2 separate regions of the Homo sapiens genome follow, and region 1 is linked to region 2. The links are contacts of gene promoters, found by promoter capture Hi-C in blood cells and fetal thymus (Javierre and others, 2016). All regions are on one chromosome and are shown on one strand. Each heading gives the region's core, a stretch centred on a gene start or on the middle of the fragment in contact. The rest is flanking DNA. Distances are from core to core; before and after follow the strand shown.

Evidence for each region. Contacts are between HindIII fragments. The CHiCAGO score rates a contact against its expected background, and 5 or more counts as called.
Region 1: a fragment that was not itself captured here is called in contact with the fragment with the promoter of TTLL1 in region 2 in 1 of 17 cell types (neutrophils); the score reaches 5.5 in neutrophils.

What each region holds. Positions count from the first base shown.
Region 1 is chr22:42,763,205-42,769,317 of GRCh38, forward strand. No RefSeq gene overlaps it. Among named protein-coding and RNA genes, the nearest start is that of A4GALT, 45 kb to the left of the region's middle. The HindIII fragment of the contact is 7,000 bases long and covers 1,330-6,113 here.
Region 2 is chr22:43,084,725-43,090,882 of GRCh38, forward strand. It overlaps TTLL1 (TTL family tubulin polyglutamylase complex subunit L1), which reads right to left and starts at 4,667. Exons shown (of 11, transcript NM_012263.5): 1 at 4,553-4,667. RefSeq lists silencers at 4,435-4,774, 4,539-4,833, 5,582-5,641 and an enhancer at 4,539-4,833. The HindIII fragment of the contact is 9,359 bases long and covers 99-6,158 here.

The DNA of each region.
Region 1 (6,113 bases), core at 3,580-6,079, 320 kb before region 2:
AAATCCCGTCTCTACTAAAAATACAAAAATTAGCTGGGCGTGGTGGCGGCTACGTACTTGGGAGGCTGAGGCAGGAGAATTGCTTGAACCTGGGAGGCGGAGGTTGCAGTGAGCCGAGATGACACCACTGTACTCCAGCCTGGTGACAGACCGAGACTCTGTCTCAAAAAACACAAACGCAACGTACTTCAGGGGTGCATCAGGCAGTTCTCTAAGAGAAATATTATGTTAATTTATTGGATCTTATTATGCTTATGCTGCTTATTGGCTTTTTACATTTTTTGCAGTTGTGATTTATTTACTTTTTTAAAACTAGAGATAGGGTCTCATACTGTGGCCCAGGCTGGTCTTGAGCTCCTGGGCTCAAGTGATCCTCCCACCTCAGATTCCCAAAGTGCTGGGATTACAGTTGTGAGCCACTGTGCGTGGCCAATTAACTTTTCTCTTTTTTTTCTTTTTTTTTGAGATGGAGTCTCACTCTGTCACCCAGGCTAGAGTGCAGTGGTACGATCTTGGCTCACTGCAACCTCTGCCTCCTGGGTTCAAGTGATTCTCCTGCCTCCTGAGTAGCTGGGATTACAGGCGCCTGCCACCGCACCCGGCTAATTTTTGTATTTTTAGTAGAGAGAGGGTTTCGCCATGTTGTCCAGTCTGGTCTCATACTCCCAACCTCGGGTGATCTGCCCGTCTCGGCCTCCCAAAGTGCTGGGATTACAGGCGTGAGCCTCCGTGCCTGGCCCTATTTACTCTTAATATTCACTTTTATGCCTAATTTTATAATCATAGTTTCCTATTTTTCTCCACAAAGAGGCCCTGAGAATGCCACCCATCGTCTCCAGCGGTGTCTCATCTGGAGGTGGCCCTGCAGGCTGGGGCTGGCTTCCCTGGGCAATGAAGAGCGTGCTAGGCCCTCAGGGTCACGTGGGCTCCCTTGCCACCTCATTGGCAGTCACTGGAAGAGTTTGCGTTGGTTCAGAGCCCAGGGCCTGATTCAATCCACGATGCAGTTGGGTACTGCCCATGAGCTGAAAAACCCCATCAACCCTCTGACCCGGGCCCGGCCAGCCTCACTGGTGTGGAACCCGTCCCCCACCCCCACACCTGGCTGCAGGACTCACTCCCTACACCCCAGAGACACAGGGCGGGTGGGGAGGTGGGAGTGGGCCCCGAGTCACTCTGCCTGCTCCCAGCTCCGCCACCTTCCAGTGCTTGACCTTAGGCACTTCCCTGTACCTCGGTTTCCCCATTTATGAAAGCAGGGAATAATGTACCTGTCCCACAGAGCAGCTGTGAGGATGGACTGGACCAGTGATGGCTGGTGCTCTGTAAAGCTTGGTAAATACATAGGGGTGCCTGGGAGCTGCTCTTATTACCTACTCTGCAAAGAGATGGGACTTTTTGGAAGGTTTTGTGGACAGATGTGGGGAGGACCGTGTTCCACCCACCGACCCACCGCCCCATGGGCCAGCTTCTCCATCGGCACCTGCCTCTCTCTCCAGAGCTCTCCTCTTGAATTTCTTTCTCTGTTCAGTCTCCTCTTCCCCTTGCACCTTCTCACTCATCTTCCTTCTGAAGGCAGAGAACGGCTCTGGCACCTCCCACTCTCTGATGCTCCCACCCAAGCCCCCAGGGGCCTCTGATCACTCATGGGATGACCCCAAACTCCTCTCCTGCACTTCATCCCCGACGCCCATATAACCTGGCCAGGCTGACTCAGCCCCCAGAACAAGTTTCCCCACAAAAGCTGGGGACCTGGGCTCCTTTTGACCCCAGATAAGCCCTATCTTCTCCAGCTTCAGTTTCGGTTCATGAAACATGGAGGGAGGCACTCAGATCCCCCCCAGTCCACAGGAAAGGGCAGGAAGAGGTTCTGACACGGAGGTGGGAGGTGAACCCCAGGGACGCGGATCAGAGCTGACAGGCTGGGGCTTTCCAGGGTGGCCGCATCACACCCCAAACACAACCACCCAAACAGTGCGTCATCCAGGTCCCCTGAAGAGCTCAGTTCTGGTTGGAGACTCCAAGAAACAGCGGCCCCTGGCCCGAGCCCATGCCCCAGCCCCCGGCCTGGGAGAAGAGCAGGGAGTCGCACAGAGGCCGCATGGCTTCTGGATTGGTCAAGGCAGAGCCTGGGTGGGCAAGGAGGTCATCCTTGTGTGGCCGCGAGCTGGCCCCTTCATAGCTGGGAGCCCCGTTATCCACGTGCCTCAGGTCCTGAGTCTCTGCTCCAATGTTGCCTCATCAGAGAGGCCCTTCTCTGACCCTTTATAAAGTGCCATCTCTCTCATGCCTTCATCTTTCTTCCTGTCGTCCGCAGGAAGACAAGCAATGATCCAGAGTCTTGAAGCAGTGTGCCGCGGAAGGTGGCGTATCCGTGGGACCGACTGCTGGGCATGGGGCGTCCCAGCCAGCAGAGAGGCAGCACCGGCCCCACTGCCGTCCCTCCTCTCCACCCCTGAGTTCCCACTGTACCAGGAGTGGGCTTGCTGTTCTCTGGCTCCTGCATCCCTGTGGTGGAATTTCCTCCCTTCCCCCTGGAGGGAGGGGCTCCCTCACCCTACCCACACCCCAGGTGGAGCTCAGGGATCCTTCCCTGTGTCCCCTACAAGGCCAGCCCCTCCCAGTGGGACTCGTGTGGGGTCTCCTCCCACCCCATTCTGTCAACCATGTGTGTGACTTGAGGATGCAAGTGGTTTATGCATCTGTTATAAAAACAGTCCCCGCCCCTCTCTGCCCATTGTGCGTCCACAAGGCTCCCATGCCCTTGTGTTTATTTTCCCAGCATTTATGTTTCAGGTCAGTCTTTTCATGTCTGCCTTTTTATGCTTAAATAATGTGCTTAGGAGGCCAGACATGGTGACTCACACCTGTCATCCCAGCACTTTGGGAGACCGAGGTGCGTGGATCACTTGAGGTCAGGAGTTCGAGACCAGCCTGGCCAACATGGTGAAACCCCGTCTCTACTAAAAATACAAAAATTAGCCAGACACAGGGGGGAATGCTTGTAATCCCAGCTACTTGGGAGGCTGAGGTGGGAGTATCACTTGAGCCAGGGAGGCAGAGGTTGCAGTGAGCTGAGATGGCGCCACTGCACTCCAGCCTGGGCAACAGAGTGAGACTCCGTCTCAAAAAATAAATAAAAAATGCCAGGCGTGGTGGTCAGGAGTTCGAGACCAGCCTGGCCAACGTGGTGAAACCCCCTCTCTACCAAAAATACAAAAATTAGCTGGGCATGGTGGCACACACCTGTAATCCCAGCAACTTGGGAGGCTGAGGCATGAGAATAGCTTGAACCCAGGATGCAGAGTTTGCAGTGGGCTGAGATCGAGCCACTGCACTCCAGCCTGGGTGACAGAGCAAGACTCTATCTCAAAAATAAATAAATAAATAAAAATAAATAAAAAATAATGTACTTAGGCCGGGCATGGGGGCTCATGTCTATCATCCCAGTACTTTAGGGGGCTGAGGCGGGAGGATCTGTTGAGCCCAGGAGTTGGAGACCACTGTGGGCAACACAGCAAGACCCCATCTCTACCCAAAATAATTATACTGTGCTTAGCTGGACACTTCTCAGGTTCTCAGTGTTGCACAGGGTCTCCTGATTCTCCACCCTGGAAGTGAAGGATTTAATTCCCTCTCACACATAGAACCCCCCAACTGTCCCCACCCCCAACATAATTTTGGTGAGACAGACATTCAGTGTCTACGTTACTATGCGGGTGCAGCTCACGCTGAGCCGTGCAGCAGGCTGGGGTTCCTCATTTTCCCTGGAGTGCATCTGGTTCCCAGGCCACTTGTGCCCCAGTTTCTTCCTGGGGCTGTGACTTCACCTCTGCACTCTCCTTCCGCTATGTAAGCCGCCTCTCCACGTGTTCAGACACATTGGAACAGTTTCCTCCCAGAGCCTCCTGACCATCCCCTGTGGCCTGGTGCCTGGCCTCTGTCATCTGGCACCCACTCTCTCCTATCAGTTGGCTCCTGCTGCCTGGACCCCATCTTCCTCTATGTGGCTGCCCCTCGTTTTGCTCATGCCCACCCTCCAAGACTTCTTTTTTTTTTAAATATATATAATGGGGACGGGGTGCGGTAGCCCATGCCTGCAATTCCAGCACTTTGGGAGGCCGAGGCGGGCGGATCACCTGAGGTCAGGAGTTCGAGACCAGCCTGGCCAACATGGAGAAACCCCGTCTCTACTAAAAATACAAAAATTAGCCGGTTGTGGTGGTAGACGCCTGTAATTCCAGCTACTCAGGAGGCTGAGACAGGAGAATCGCTTGAACCCAGGAGGCAGAGGTTGCGGTGAGCCGAGATCGTGCCATTGCACTCCAGCCTGGGAGACAGAGAGAGACTCTGTCTCAAAAAAAAAAAATATATATATATATATATATATATATATATATATTTTTTTTTTTTTTTTTTTTTTTTAATTATTTTTTTTTTGCCCACGGCACAGTTCCAAGAGATCTCGGGAACATGTTTCCCTCCATGGCCTTCTTTTTAATTAATTAATTTATTTATTTATTTTGAGACAGAGTCTTGCTGTCACCCAGGCTAGAGTGCAGTGGTGAGATCTCGGCTCACTGCAACCTCCACCTCCCAGGTTCAAGCAATTCTCCTGCCTCAGCCTCCTGAATAGCTGGGACTACAGGGGTGCACCACCACGCCTAGCTAATTTTTTCACATTTTTAGTGGAGACAGGGTTTCACCATGTTGGCCAGGCTGGTCTTGAACTCCTGACCTCAAGTGATCTGCCCACCTCAGCCTCCCAAAGTGCTGGGATCATAGGCATGAGCTACTGTGCCCAGCCATCTACTTCTATTTAAGAAAGGGGCAGCAAACAGTGGCTTAGACACCCTGTGCCACGTGCAGGATTCATCCATGTGGGACTCACATAAGAGGACCAGCTGGACGGTTTTCCTGGGCGAACTGCTGATGTCACTATCTTTGGGTCTTTTCTCTTGAGTTGCTTGGACTTTGGAAAAGGATGTTACAAGGCCGTACAGAGGGCAGCTGAGGGGGCCAACCAGGTCTGGTGGAAGGCGAAGTGGCCCCCAAAGATGTCCCAGTCCTGATCCCTGGTAGCTGGGAAGATGTTGTTACAAGACAAAAGGAAATTTGCAGGTGTAATTAAGGTTACGAACCTTAAAATAGGGAGGGAAATTATCCTAGACATGGCTGGGATAGTGGGTCTGGTCCAGTCCCATGAGCTGTAAGAGCAGAAAAGGACTTTCTCTGGCTGGAAGCAGAAGAGAGACCAGGCCGAATGGGAAGCCAGAGAGTTTCCAAGTGTGAGGACTGGACATGCCGCTGCCGGCTCCGAGACGGGGGCCCACGGGCAAGGACAGAGACAGGCCTCTACTTGCTAAGGCTGGGCCCTGGCTGACAGCCAGCCAGGGAACAGGGACTTCAGTCCTATAGCCACAGAAACCAGATCCCACCAACCACCTGCGCGGACTCAGAAGGCAACTCACTTGCAGAGCCTCCGGAAGGGACACCCACCCAGCAGGCACTGGGCCCCCTCCAGCCACCCTCAGGCATGCGGGGCTGCAGCCAGAGAGGGGCACAGGGTCGGGCTTGGGCCTGTCAGACCCTCCCCTCCACAGTCTGAGTGACCTGGCCAGTGGCAGGATGGAGGCCTGAGAGGTGGCGCCGTTCACGGAACTGGGAGGGCCATGGGACCGGCTGGGGCGCTGGCTGACGGTGACGGGCGTGTGTGTGAGAACCTGAATGGATGAGGGTGGGTGGGTGGGTGGTGGGGTGGAGGCAGCTCCCTCCCCGTTTACTGGGGTGTGACTTGAGCACCTCGCAAGCACAGGCAGTGCCTCAGCCGCTTACTCTGTGAGGGGCCGACCGTGCCCACCTGCAGGCCCACTGTGTGCCGGGCACCCTGAGCCCCGCGTTTCCAGTGGCTCCAACTCTCCCACAGGTGACCCGGTGGATGCTGCTCTCCTCTGTGTGAGGGAGGAAGCGAGGGGACTGTCATGGCCCACGAGCCTGTTCGCCTCCACAAGCGGCTCCCAACCCCAGGCTCCTTCCAGCAAACCCTTGGAAAGGTCATAGAGCCTGGATGCCCCAGGCCTTGAGGGGCAGAGGGTGGGGGGCAGCAGGGTGGA
Region 2 (6,158 bases), core at 3,417-5,916:
TCTCCTGACCTTGTTATCTGCCCGCCTCAGCCTCCCAAAGTGCTGGGATTACAGGCATGAGCCACTGTGCCCAGCCTTTTTTCTAGGTTTCAACCACAAGCTTCCAATCTCTTATCATCAGGTGGTTAGGTTGGAGTAATTCTAGCCAGGGCCCTGGCTGGGCACTGGAGCTCAACCATGCCTGCACAGAGTAAGGAATGACAAATTTATATCATCATTAAGAACAAAAGCTGCCACCTTTTTTTTTTTTTTTTTTTTTTTGAGATGGCATCTTGCTCTGTCGCCCAGGCTGGAGTGCAGTGGCGCGATCTCAGCTCACTGTAACCTCCACTTTCCAGGTTCAAGTGATTCAAGCGATTCTCCTGCCTCAGCCTCCCGAGTAGCTGGGACTACAGGCGCATGCCACCATGCCCGGCTAATTTTTTGTATTTTTAATAGAGACGAGGTTTCACTGTGTCAGCCAGGATGGTCTCCATCTCCTGACCTCGTGATCCGCCTGCCTCGGCCTCCCAAAGTGCTGGGATTACAGGTGTGAGCCACCGCGCCTGGCAAAGCTACCACTTATTAAGCTCTAGCATGTGTCAGGTACTGGGTGGGGTAGTTTATGAATATTCTTCTCCACTGTGTATATTATCGTCTCATGTGATGCCCAAAGGCAGATGATATGATTTGTCTGTATCCCAATCTCAACTTGACTTGTAATAATCCCCACGAGTCAAGGGCAGGGCAAGGTGGAGATAAACGAATCATGGGAGTGGTTCCCCCGTACTGTTCTCGTGGTAGTGAATAAATCTTGTGAGATCTGATGGTTTTATAAATGCGAGTTCCCCTGCACAAGCTCTCTTGCCTGCCACCATGTATAATGTGCCTTTGCTCTTCCTTCATCTTCCGCCATGATTGTGACTGAGTCAATTAAACCTCTTCCTTTTATAAATTACCCAGTTTTGGGTATGTCTTTATTAGCAGCATGAGAACAGACTAATACAGCAGGAATTCTCCGCATTTTACAGATGAGGAAAATGGGGGCCAGAGAATAAAAAGAAGAGGAGAGTGTGCAGCCTGTGGACAGCCTACACGCTTCCCTCCCACACCAGATGGCAACTGTTATTTCACATGTGCCTCCCACATTAGATAGCAACCTCCTGCGGGGCAGCAGAGTGGGCTGGCTCAGGAGCGGGCTGGCTCAGGAGTGGGCTGACTCGTGTCTGTTCTCATGTCGGGCACGCAGCCAGCCAGGCCTAGCGTGGGGCTCCAAAATCGTGTGTAGACAAGTGATCCACCGGGCCACGCCCCACAGTGTGGAAGAATGGGTGATTCCTTCCCAACCCTAAGCAATACTAAGCCGTTTTCCTTAGAAAAGTAAATAAATACCTGATATCAGATTGTTTTATTGTTGCTTCCTCCTAAAACAGAAAACGGAAGTGGGGTTAAGGGTACTGAGTAACGTGTTATTATCTCTCCTGGTTCACGTGAATTGATGCATCTGAATCTTACGTCACTTTCTAAACTGAGCATCATAAAAACCTAACCAGGAAAAACAGAGTGACATATTGACCTTTTATGTTGAATGCAGCTCACAATTGGAGTTGGGGCTGTCACCACCTGAAGTGTGTCAACCACAGAAAGCCATCCTGAAACCAGAGAGCTGCTGGTTATTTTCAGAAGACAACCTGGGTCTCGCTCCTGGGGCAACTGGGTAGGATCGTCATGAGCTCAAAGAGAAGGTTTCCCATGAACACCCTGGATATCAGGGCCACTGGTGGTCTAACTTCTCATCCACCCACACAGCCCTGACAGCCACTCAGTGCCAGGCCTGTAACAGACAGACATTAAACTGAGAGCCCAGATGGGGGCGAGGAGCACAGGAGACACATTTAACAAGCTGTAAGGCCTGCCTGCAGCAAAGGGCTTCAACAACACATCACAGTTCAACTGTGGCCGGGGAAGGAAGGGATGGTTAATTTGATCCAGCAGCAAATCAGGTCAGCTCCACTCCAGAAGATTCCAAATCCATCCTCCACTCCCATAATGTCCCCTCTCTCCTGGGCAACTGCAGCAGGCCCCACTCTGTCCCCTGCTACTCTTCTCACTCCACTACAACCCATTTCCCACCCAGCAGCGGACCAATGTGTGACACACACAACACTAACCATGTCACCCTGCTCACTACCCCACAGTAGCTTCATACTGCATTCAGAATGAAGCTAGTGGTCCTCCATGGCCTACGAGGCCAGCCCTGCAGATCTGGACCATCACCTCTTAGGCCTTGTCTCTCACCAACCCTCTTTAGCCCCTGGCCTTCTTTCAGCTCCTGACACCCCACAGGCTGCATTTTGTCTTAAGCCTTTGCTCGTCCTCCAGATCTGTCCCTTCTCAAAAGTCAACTGCTCAGAGTGGCTTTCCCCAACCACTCAATCTCAATCCTCCTGACTCCACCACATTGTCACTTTATTTTCTCCATGGCACTTGGGTTGTAAGCAATCATTTAGTCCAGTGCTACTCAAAGCATGGCCCACATGTGAGCAGCACCTGGAGCTTGTTAGAAATACAGATTCTTTGGGAGGCCAAGACAGGTGGATCACCTGAGGTCGGGAGTTCGAGACCAGCCTGGCTAACATGGTGAAACCCCGTCTCTACTAAAAATACAAAATTAGCTGCGCGTGGTGGTGCACATCTGTAATCCCAGCTACTCAGAAGGCTGATGCACGAGAATCACTTGAACCTGGGAGGTGGAGGTTGCAGTGAGCTGGCATCACGCCACTGCACTCCAGCCCGGGCAACAGAGTGAGACTCCATCTCAAAAAAAAAAAAAAAAAGAAATACAGATTCTTAGCAGGGCACGGTGGCTCACGCCTGTAATCCCAACACTTTGGGAGGCCAAGGTGGGTAGATCACCTGAGGTCAGGAATTCAAAACCAGCCTGGCCAACATGGTGAAACCCTATCTCTACTAAAAATACAAATATCAGCCGGGCGTGGTGGTGGGCGCCTGTAATCCAAGCTATCTGGGAGGCTGAGGTGGGAGGATTGCTTGAACCCGGGAGGCAGAGGTTGCAGTGAGCCAAGATCGCACCACTGCACACTCCAGCCTGGGTGACAGAGTGAGACGGTCTCAAAAAAAAAAAAAAAAAACCAAGAATATGGCCAGGCACAGTGGCTCACGCTTGTAATCCCAGCACTTTGGGAGGCCGAGGTGGGCGGATCACCTGAGGTCAGGAGCTCGAGACCAGCCTGGCCAACATGGCGAAACCCCATCTCTACTAAAATTTAAAAAATTAGCGGGGCATGGTGGCGCGTGCCTGTAATCACAGCTACATGGGAGGCTGAGGCAGGAGAATCGCTTGAACCCAGGAGGCAGAGGTTGCAGTGAGCCGAGAGCGACCGCACTCCAGCCTGGGCAACAAAGCAAGACTCCGTCTAAAAATAAATAAATAAATAAATAAAGTAATAACAATGTCAGTGATGACTTCATGTTGAGCAGGGCATTCGTTCACAGCGGTATTGTCACTGTCCATCTCCACGCCCGCACTGGGTGACAGTACCATGCTCCACAGTGACTGCTTACCAGTGTCTGTAATTTGAGGGCAGAGAAGGGCCCATCTTTTTTTTTTTTTTTTTTTTTTTTTTTTTTGAGACAGAATCTCGCTCTGTCGCCCAGGCTGGAGTGCAGTGGCGCAATCTCGGCTCACTGCAAGCTCCGCCTCCCGGGTTCACGCCATTCTCCTGCCTCAGCCTCCCGAGTAGCTGGGACTACAGGCCCCCGCCACCATGCCCGGCTAATTTTTTTTTTTTTGTATTTTTAGTATAGACGGGGTTTCACCGTGTTAGCCAGGATGGTCTCGATCTCCTGACCTCGTGATCCTCCCGCCTCGGCCTCCCAAAGTGCTGGGATTACAGGCGTGAGCCACCGTGCCCGGCCGGGGCCCATCTTTTTGTACCGCCACAACCCGGCACCATAATGTGCTCATCAAACGTTTCCTGAGCAAAGAACCTGCTTTGCAAATGCCAAAAGGGCTAACAATGATAAGATACTTTCACTTCCAGAATTAATCTCCTCTAATGCCCCAGCTACTCTATGGAAAAGGATGACTACCCCGCCCTGCCCTCTTAGCTGATAGGGAATCAGAGAGGGGAAATGTCTTGGTCCAGTCATCTAGAGGGAAGACACAAGGCTCTTGTCTCCTGCCCTGAGTTCTCTCCACAGGTACATTGCGCCCTGCAAAAGATGCCAACAGAAACAACACAGATTGCAAACGAATGGGAAACGTGTAGGAACAATGAAAGTCTGGGATAACAAATAATAAACATAATGATGCAATTGCAACAGTCGGACAGCACGAGGTAAGTCATAGGAACTCAGCGGACGGAGAAAGGCACGGTGGTTAGCGCGGGCTTCCTGGAGGACGCGGATCCGGCAAGCAGCATCTGAACCGCATTTTCGCAGCCGCGTAGACACTGGCGCCCACACTCTCTCACCCATGCGCACTCGCCAGCCCGCGCGCAGCCACACCCTCGGTGCCCGGGAGGCGGCGGCCTGGGGGACAGGACCTCACCTGTGGGCTCAGAGCGCCGAGGGACTCGGAGGAGCGCCCTGCAGGGATGCCTCGAGCCGCGCCCTCGCCCCGCCTCCAGCCCCTCTCCGGCGCTCGCAGGAGTACGCAGCCGACTGCCAGGCGCACCGGCCCGCCCCGCCCCGCGCTGCACTCTACTTCCAGGGCGGCGCCCTGGCAACCCAGGACGCGACCGCCGGCGCTGCGACTATTTCCGGAGTCAGACTTGCCTGGGGCTCCTTTGGGCTCCATACCTCGGGCGGCCGCTATGCCCAGGGCTTGGATCCTAGGAAATGCCAGGCCGTCCACCCTCTCGGGGCCCAGAAAGGAGATTGAGAAGGGTCTGGAGCACGGGATTAAGTCTAAAAAGAAAGGTAGAGCGGTGTGATGATTAGGTCCGAATCCTGGGTTCGGTCTCAATCCGCTGTTTAGCCTCTCCTACCCCTTCTACCTCGGCTTCCTTATCTGAAGAAATGGTGATGTTGCGCCACTGCACTCCAGCCTGGGCGATAGAGCGAGACTCCATCTCAAATAATAATAATAATAATAACATAAAAATAAAATAATTTTTTTTAAAAAGTGTTTATCTGGGCCAGACTCGGTGGCTCACGCCTGTAATCCCAGCACTTTGGGAGGCAGAGGCGGGTGGGTCGCGAGGTCAGGAGATCGAGACCATCCTGGCTAGGCTGAGGCAAGAGAATCGCTTGAACCCGGGAGACAGAGGTTGCAGTGAGCCAAGATCGTGCCACTGCACTCAAGCCTGGGCGACAGAACAAGACTCCGCCTCAAAAAAAAAAAAAAAAGACGTTTATTATTCTCGTTATAGACCTGTGTTACCTCGAATTCTCTATACAATTATTCATTTTTAATTTCATCAATTTAAAGAGTTATGCAAACTTGTGCAACTTGTAAGTGACAGAGTCTGGCTTTGAACCCAGGACACCTGACCATTCATGCTGCTGCCTCTCAGGAGGGGTGGTGGTGTGCTTTCTTAGTGATGATTGGAGCTTTGCTAACATCACTTCCTATAATCTCCCACACAACCGCCTCCCAGGCCCAGAGCACATTCAGCGCATCATCATTTACTTTTGGCACCATCTAGTGGAACCAACACTTATCTGGAGTCCAAATTGCCAATTCATACCCTTCAGCTGCTGTCTGGTTGTGAGGCCTTGAGAAGTCCCAAGGCTTCCGACTACAGTGTTCTCACCTTAAACCCAGGAGATGAGTGAAGGCTTGCAAGACGTGGTTAGGGCCTGGCATAGTAAAGTGTTCAATAAACATTGTAGCCTTCCAGCATGTTGCCTCATGCCTGCAATCCCTGTACTTTGGGAGGCCAAGATGGGAGGATCACTTGAGGTCAGGAGTTCCAGACCAGCCTGGCCAATATAGCAAGACCCCATTTCTAAAAAAAAAAGAAAAAATATTTTTAATCAGCCGGGTATGGGGGCGTAGCCAGCAGTCCTACTCAGTTACTCAGGAGGCTGAGGTGGATCACTTGAGCCTAGGAGATTGAGGCTGCAGTGAGCTATGATCCCGCCACTACACTACAGCCTGGCCAACAGAACAAGACTCTGTCTCTTAGAGAAAAAAAGTTAAAAAAAACAAC